2 separate regions of the Homo sapiens genome follow, and region 2 is linked to region 1. Evidence: promoter capture Hi-C in 16 types of primary human blood cells and fetal thymus (Javierre and others, 2016). All regions are on one chromosome and are shown on one strand. The core of a region is centred on a gene start or on the middle of the fragment in contact, and the rest is flanking DNA. Distances in the headings are between cores, read along the strand shown.

Region 1 (4,334 bases), core at 952-3,451:
TTTGGTAGTTAATAATAAACAGATAATAAAGGCAAAGCCAAATAAGTAGATGAGATCACCTAGGTAGAGAATACAGTAGAAGAACATGAGAGATGAGGATTATATACTGAATAACTAAAATAATTAAAGATTTGATAAAGAAGATGACTCTATCAAGGTGAAAGAGAAAGAGCAGCTCAAGAGGTAATAGGAAACCTGAAGAATGTGGTGTTGGCAAATTAAGGAGGGAGTCGTCAATGGTGTCAAAGCACTGAAGTTCAAGGAAGATGAGAACAGAAAAATACCATTGGGGTTAGTGATACAAAAGCCGCTTGTGATCTTAGAACTGTTTTGTGAAGCGGAACAGGTGGATACCAATCTCAGAACATCTGACAAGGGGCCAATTAATATTAACTTCTAGCCACCTTTTACTTTACACCTTTTACTTTATACAGTAGCATTATCTACACTTATTTCTAGCTCAACTATACGGACTCTCTAGTTCAACTATATGGAGAAATAATTTACATAGTGCAAGTAATTCCACTGGCCATTCCACTCCATTAATTTATGTGAGCAACAGTGTTAAGTAATTTAAGACGAGAGACTATAAATCTGCTTTTCCCTCAGTTAGTCTTTAAGTCTCTCTTAGCACTAGCACTTTGCTATGTTGAGTGTGATTATAGTGTTTAAAGATACAGTATGTATTTTTCATACAATATAGCCCCTCAACACAAGCCAATTTCTTCACCTGGTTTTCAAACAGAATCAGCCATCTGTTTCAACGCTGGAAAAAAGGCAGGTTGTGCTGAACTTACTGAGACAATACACTGATCTCCAACATGGTGTTCTTCTAAGAGACTTTCCAGGGTAATTCTGATAATATGCATCTTTTGTCTGAGGTATTGACTAGTTCAAGATGACACACTGTAGAGAGACCGCCTATGGATTTACTTGGTTGAGGGACTTCCAGCCAAGACAGACTGTACCCTAGAGATCTGGCATTTTTCCTGCTTAATTCTCTATCCTCCTAGATTCTGGTGGCAGCCTAAACCTTTGGTAACTACCTGACCCTGCCTTATTTACTCTGAACTTAATCTTTTACCTGCCCACTTTGCAGGTCTGCTGCTTCTAAAATTCTTATTTACTGGAAAAACGCCAAACAGTAGACACTTCCAAGGAAAACTCAATTAACTGTACTTACTAAATCGTTTTTAGTAATCAATTATATTTTAAAAATAATTTATGTCTTGACTGCACAATTAAATTCTATGCTCAAGAGAAACTACATTATCTGGGTTCATCCAGTAAAGACTACAAAAGTTGCTAAATGCCTAAGACTTACTATGCAGTAAACCAAATCTCCCATTCCTGCATAATTCCACTAAAACAGAATGCAGCTAAACAAGAGCAAAAGTATCTTCTTAGAAATACAGGTGTGTTACTGTGTCTGCAAATTAAACTCAAACAAGGTCACACACAATTGTAACAAAAAACTTCCCCAAATTACTTATGTCAGCTCCTCTTATGAGCCCACAGGCTGCAGAGAACCAATTTGGAAGCCAGGAGAATCCTGCCCTCTGCTGCTGAGTTGAGGAAATCGCCTCAACATAATTAATCGCTTTTGAGAAGGGAAGTTACACTCTGGGCAAAACACCAGTGAAAGTCAAGTGAGCAAAGTAAACGCTTTCTTGGACTCTTGACATCCGAATTTTCTCAACAGTTTAAACACGCACACCCTGGCATTCAAACATCAAGAACAGTAAATCGGGTTTCAAAACAGAAGTTTTTTTTTTTTTTTTTTTTTTTTTTTCCATTTCTCCCTAAATTAGAGAGCTATCACCTGGGGTGGTCGTATTTTAGCTAGCTTCGAGATCCGAGTGTCTGCGTGCAGTCCCGACGGGGCTGCTAGGCGCGGGGCTGCCCAGCTAGGGACAGGACGCGGCGCTCTCCACTGCCCGCGCAGCCGCGATCAGTCAAAGCCCGGGCTCCGGGGCCGGCTGCGAACGTTGGGGAGGTTGGAGAGGGACGTTTACCTGGGGCCGGTCCCCACTAGGTAGGTGTTGGTGCCTTGGAGGGTCATGGGACCCGGGTTACAGCCCAACACACGCACGACTCGATTGGACAGCCGCTCGACGCGCTGCAGTACAGCAGCCATTCCCGCCTCAGCCGCCCGCCGGCGTGTCGCCTATCTGGATACTCCAGCGCGGAAGAAGCCAACAGGCCGGGGATAGCGAGTAGCGTCCACGTGATGCCTCGCAACCCGGGAGGGAGGGGATTGGCCAGCGGCTGGTCCAGGTGTCATGTGACACCGCGGACGAGCCGGGGCGGGGATCCGGCAGCTAGGCCGGGGGGTGGGGGGGGCGGTGCGGAACTAGAGGTCACGTGACGCCGCGCGGGCTGCGCGGGCAGTGGTGGGAAGGCTGGCGCGAGGCGTGAGGTGGCGTGAGGCGAAGCTGGAATCTGCCTCTGTCACGGGGGCTGGTGCCTCACGGGTTTGTGTCCTAGACAGGCGAGTGGATCCAAGTGGGCGAGAGACATTTTAATCTGGAAGAGTCTTGTGATTTGGGAGACAGGTTTGGTAACCGTTCGTTATTCAGTAATAAATGTCAGGAAGGATTGCCAGATTTTTAGGCAGTGGCTCTGTGTGTGTGTGTGTGTGTGTGTGTGTGTGTGTAGTAGTAGTAGTAGTAGCCTGTTCATTTTTTTTTTTTTTTTTTTTGAGACGAAGTCTCGGTCTGTCGCCCAGGCTGGAGTGCAGTGGCGCGATCTCGGCTCACTGCAAGCCCCGCCTCCCGGGTTCACGCCATCCTCCTGCCTCGGCCTCCCGAGTAGCTGGGACTATAGGCGTCCGCCACCACGCCCGGCTAATTTTTTGTATTTTTAGTAGAGACCGGGTTTCATTGTGTTAGCCAGGAAGGTCTTGATCTCCTGACCTCGTGATCCGCCCGCCTCGGCCTCCCAAAGTGCTGGGATTACAGGCGTGAGCTACCACGCCGGGCCAGCCTGTTCATCTTTTATAATAAATAGTGGTAAGACATATTTACTTAGTACTTCCTACTATGCCTAAGTGCTTTCAACAAACATCCGACTTAACGCCCTTAATCCTCAGAACATTATTAAGAGGTGGACACTATTTTTGTTACAAATGAAAAACGGGGATTGGGCAGCTGCCCAGATGACAGAGTCTGCGTGTGCGGCCTTGCTCCTACCTGCCTCGCACTAACACTTGTCCCCCTCAGTGAGATTCAAGGAGCATGCCTCTGCCTGCCAGTGTTACCTGCCTGCCCAGAGAGCTAGGCTGGTCTTGTGGAGCCGTTTTGTGCCCAAGATGGAAGGGACTCATTTTCTCTGTAACAAGTCGGTTTCTTATCAGCCAAGTATTAACTATCCAGTGTTAACTACAGCTTCCCATAAAAAAAGTTGAGTTATAAATTACTTAAAAGAAAATACACAGATCCTGTAGACAGTTCCATCGAGTTATGACAATTGTATGTAATCACTGCCCCAAAGAGATGTAGAACATATCCACTGTAGCAGCCCACTCTTTTTTTTTTTAAAAAAAGGTGAGAAATTGACACATACAGTGCTTGGTGGCTTTTTTTTTTCCAGATATTTCTGATGAAGAAAACGATCTGCTCTTACCTATTTTATGAATCAGCAGCATAGTGTATCAGAGTGGCTAATGACATCTGCTTTGTGTGTGAGAAATGTCTTTGCCTTGTTTCACACAGTTGTACTTTTAATGGAAAAATATTCAAAAAATCATCGCTGAAATAATCATATAAGTTATCCCCTGTTGCAATGGGAAGTTAAACAGTATACCCTTCAAAAAATACTTAAAGTAACCAAATCTCCTACATCAGGCATTTCAATCTGTCAATATGTATTTATGATAGCCATCAATTAATGGCTATTCAGGCAGGAGGCTTTGCACATCTTCCCTTTTTAAGAACTCTGCTGGAAAGTCAGTGAACCCTGGAGAAGAGGATGGAACAGTAATTTCTGGACCAGATTCCTGAGAATCTGGGCACTCCCCTTCTTTTATTCTTTGGCTTAATTAATTTCCTTACTTAACTTACTTATTTACTTACAGGGTCTGGCTTTCACCCGGGCTGCAGTGCAGTGGCACTATCATAGCTCACTGTAACCTTGAACTCTTGAACTCAAGCGATTCAGGTGATCCTCCTGCTTTGGTCTCCCAAAGTGCTAGGATTGCAGGCTTGAGCCACCATGCCTGGCTGAGATAAACTTTTTAGCTCCCACGTATGAATGAGAATATGTGATATTTGTCTTTCTATGCATGGATTATTTCACTTATCATAATCTCTAGTTCCATCCATGTTGCTGAAAAT
Region 2 (4,334 bases), core at 697-3,196, 2.3 Mb after region 1:
AGAGATTATTGATCACAGACCACCATACAGATATAATAATAATGAAAAAGTTTGAAATATTGCAAGAATTATCAAAATGTGACAGGTACAGGTACTGTTAGAAAAATGAGCCAGACGCGGTGGCTCATGCCTGTAATCCCAGCACTTTGGGAGGCTGAGGCGGGCAGATCACGAGGTCAGGAGATCGAGACCATCCTGGCTAACATGGTGAAACCCCGTCTCTACTAAAAAAATACAAAAAAAATTAGCCAGCCTTGGTGGTGGGCGCCTGTAGTCCCAGCTATGCGGGAGGCTGAGGCAGAAGAATGGCATGAACCTGGGAGGCGGAGCTTGCAGTGAGTGGAGATGCACCATTGCACTCCAGCCTGGGCGACAGAGCGTGACTCTGTCTCAAAAAAAAAAAAAGGTGCCGTTAGACTTGGCTCAAGCTGGGCTGCGGTAAACTTTCAATTTGTAAAAAACATGCAATCTGCAAAGCACAATAAAATGAGGTATGTCTGCACCTATCCTTCGTGGTACTCATTAAAATTTTAATTAGTTACTTACATAACTTTTTGTTTAATTGTGTCTTCTCAGATTAAAACCTTCATGGGGGCAGAGACTGGCTATCTGAAGTCATCACCTCCTAACACAGGCTGGCAGTAGATGTTCAGTAAATATTGAATGGCTTGTGTTTAAATTCTATATAAATTTTGTGCTCTCTTAAAATCCTGTTAAATTCTATTATGACTGTGTATGGTCCAGATAATCTCTGGTGTAGCATAAGATTATGTTAGAATTGAGGGAGGAAATTGGGTAAAAATATATTCGTCTTATATGCTTAATTGCTACAGAATTGCTTTTCAGTTTGCTAGTTATTTAAGTTTTTTATATATACACCAACCAAGCCCTGGGTTAGGTATAATGGTAGTAGTGGCACCTTCAGGTCTTAGGTTAGACATTATTTCCTCAGAGAAGCCTTCCCTGACACCTCCTCTGTGCAGAAGATACTTAAACACACAGATTTCTTGTTATATGCTTCCAAAGCATTCTGTACTTGTCTTTTTAAAGTTTTCACAACATTTTTACTTCAGTAGTTCAATCGCTTGTCTCATTGCTACATGGTAAAAAGCTCACTGTGGTCCAGGAGTATGGCTTACTTGGTATTGTATGTAATCACTGCCTGACTCAACATCTGGGTGGGCATTCAAGTTTGGGGAGGTTAATATTAATAGGTTTTAAACTTTGTAAGCTAAACAGACTCACTTAACTGAAACCTAGATAGAAATAATATAAAATATTTTCTATTATATGAAATGTTTCTAGGTATAAGTTTCCAACCAATGATTTTACACATTTTACAATTTGTATCTAAATCTTTTTTGTTAATGTAGACTGCTACTTGTGAAAGAATTTTCAACAATTTTTATTCTACATGTGAAAGTTATATTTTGTAAGAAATGTCTTCATTGCTATTCTTTTTTTTTGTTCTGAATTTTAATCAGATCTTAAATGTACAACTCTAAATTTATGATAATTTTTACAATATGTTTGTAGCCTATTACTCAACAAACCACACAGTGGCACTACTGGATCAAGTTTGATTTTAATAAAATTTACTTTTTTTCTTTTTTAGCTATTATTCATGGACTATCCAGTCTAACAGCTTGCCAGTTGAGAACGATATACATATGTCAGTTTTTGACAAGAATTGCAGCAGGAAAAACCCTTGGTAAATATGTTTTTTTATTTTATATTGGAAATATTTCAATCTGTTTCTAATGTAAGACAATGGGAAGAAACAGACGTTTTTGGGGGAAGTTTGCCTACAAGTGTCTGGTGCATAGGGGTGTGGGGGGGTGGTGTGTGTGTGTGTGTACACATACAGTCATATCTAAAGCAAGTAAAAGAAATGTAGTCCCTGTCATCTTAGAACATTGGTTCTCAAACTTTAGCCTGCTCCAGAATTACTTAAAGGGCTTATTAAAAAAAAAAAAACATAGTGCTGAGTCTCCCTAACTCTCATGAGTTTCAGATTCAGTAGGATGGGTATGGGGCTCTGAAATATACATTTCTAATAAATTCCCAGGTGATTCTGATGCTACTCTTGGGGAAGTGTGTTTCATTGACTCTATTTGCTAACTTTGTGGTGACTCCAATCATACACACTCTGTTTTTACTGGCAACTATTATATTTGAAACCTTTTATTTGAACTTGATGCCAGCGCTTACGTAAGAAGTACAGTTTATAGCTGTAATCTCTCTCCCTTGTCTCTGTAGTTCCATTTTAGATTGTAATGGGCAAGGCTGATTCAGTTTATCAGTAATGGCTGGTATTTACAACATGGTCATTTTAAAAGGCTATTTGATGGAAATAATTTTGTATTTAGATTGGTTTTTATAATTTACAAAATACTTTTCCAACAATCCTGAGTAGTGGGCAGTACTTACATAAAACTGCTTGCTTATTGAAGTGTTGTCTTACATAAAATCCCAGTGTATTAGCACCACTGTCAAGGCCTTCACTAAAGTATCTCTGGCTGATGTAGTCTGCTTTGTTTGGGGGGTGAGGGTAGGTCTGGAGTTGGTGCCAGGACCATAAATGGATAGAACTAGATAGAGGCAGAATAGTTGTGAAAGAGACAGAGCCATAGGTAGGCCTGGGCCAGTTGCTGGAGAAGTAGCAGGCTGGAGCAGAATTCCAGACCATGCAGACTATAAGTTGACACTGTTGTTAACAGGGTTGTTTTCTACATTAAGGTGGAAAAGTATTCTAAAGTGCCTGGCAGTGCTTTACACATAGCAGTTGTTCAGCACATCTTAGTTGCTTCCTGGATAACCTTTTCTCCAAAAAAGGCAGGGGGGAATCCAGATTTTATGTGTGATCTCATGGTTTAATCTTGGAATTTACCAGGATACTCTTTTGGATATATCCTAGATATAATAGGCCAGGGTCAGCTGTCAAGAATCAATGTATTTCACCATAATGCACTAAACTGAGGCAGCATTTAAAATTTTATGTATTGGATTTTTGGCTATACATAACCCTTTTGCTTTTTTTTTTTTTTTTTTAATTTTGCTCTATAGTGGCACTGCCTAATAGAGATATGTGAGCCACATGTCTAATTTAAAATTTTCTAATAGCTATGTTAAGAAAAGTAGGCCAGGCATAGTGACTCACACCTGTAATCCCAGTACTTTGGGAGGCCTAGACAGGAGGATCGCTTGAGCCTAAGAATTTGACACCAGCCTAGGCAACATAGCGAGACCCTGTCTCTACAAAAAATTTAAAAAATTGGCTGGGCGTGGTGATTCACGCCTGTAATCCCAGCACTTTGGGAGGCCGAGGTGAGCGGATCACGAGGCCAGGCAATAAAGACCATCCTTGCTAACGTGGTGAAACCCCGTCTCTACTAAAAATACAAAAAAAAATAAAAATAAAAAGTTAACCACGTGTGGTCCTCTGGAGACTGAGGTAGGATCGTTTGAGCCCAGGAGGTTGAGGCTGTGGTTAGCTGTGATTGTGCCACTTCACTTCAGCCTGAGTGACAGAATGAAATCCTGTCATGAAATTTAGAAATTCCCATTCCAGCAGGTGTAGCTAAAAAATAATAATGATAATTAAAATAGGTGGAATTAATTTTGATAATCTTATTTAACTCAATATTTCTCAAACACTATGTCAACAAGTAGTCAGTGTAAAAAATGTTAGTAAGGCCAGGCACATGGCTCACACCTGTAATCCCAGCTCTGGGAGGCTGAGGTGGGTGGATCACTTGAGCCCACGAGTTTAAGGCTGCAGTGAGCTATGATCACACCACTGCACCCCAACCTGGGCAGCACAGCAAGGCCCCCATCTCTTAAAAAAAATCAAATGAGATATTTTACCTTTTTTTGGAGTAAGTCTTTGAAATCTCATGTGTACTTTATACTTAAGGTGCATCTCAATTCAAACTAGCCATATTTTAGCTGTGCAGTAATCATGTATGGCTAGTAGCTGTGCAGTAATCATGTATGGCTAGTAGCTACCATATTGGGTTTAGTCTCCTACCCCACATAGGTTTGACAAGATTGGACATGTTTGGGGTGATGTGGCTGTAGACCCCCACGTAGCTCTGAAATACAGCAGATATCTTAAAGGGGAAATGCTTGTCATCCTCCTCTTATGGAACTTTAAGCTTTTTTTTTTTTTTTTAGCCAGGGTGTCTCTCTGGCCCAGGCTGGAATGCAGTGGTGCCATCATAGTTTATTGCAGACTCAAACTCTTGAGCTCAAGTGATCCTCCTGCCTCAGCCTCCTGAGTAGCTAGGACTACAGGTGCACCATCAGGCCCAGTTAATTTTTTAATTTTTTGT

What was found. The method cuts DNA at HindIII sites, captures the fragments that hold promoters and counts their contacts. A CHiCAGO score of 5 or more calls a contact.
Region 2: a fragment that was not itself captured here is called in contact with the fragment with the promoter of LACTB2 in region 1 in 1 of 17 cell types (naive CD8 T cells); the score reaches 5.0 in naive CD8 T cells.

What each region holds. Positions count from the first base shown.
Region 1 is chr8:70,666,984-70,671,317 of GRCh38, forward strand. LACTB2 (lactamase beta 2) reads right to left here and starts at 2,202. Exons shown (of 7, transcript NM_016027.3): 1 at 2,016-2,202. The coding sequence starts at 2,137. It overlaps XKR9 (XK related 9), which reads left to right and starts at 2,356. Exons shown (of 5, transcript NM_001011720.2): 1 at 2,356-2,555. The HindIII fragment of the contact is 8,354 bases long and covers 1-4,334 here.
Region 2 is chr8:73,012,280-73,016,613 of GRCh38, forward strand. TERF1 (telomeric repeat binding factor 1) reads left to right here. Exons shown (of 10, transcript NM_017489.3): 2 at 1,616-1,711. Among named protein-coding and RNA genes, the nearest start is that of TERF1, 5.6 kb to the left of the region's middle. The HindIII fragment of the contact is 4,417 bases long and covers 1-4,155 here.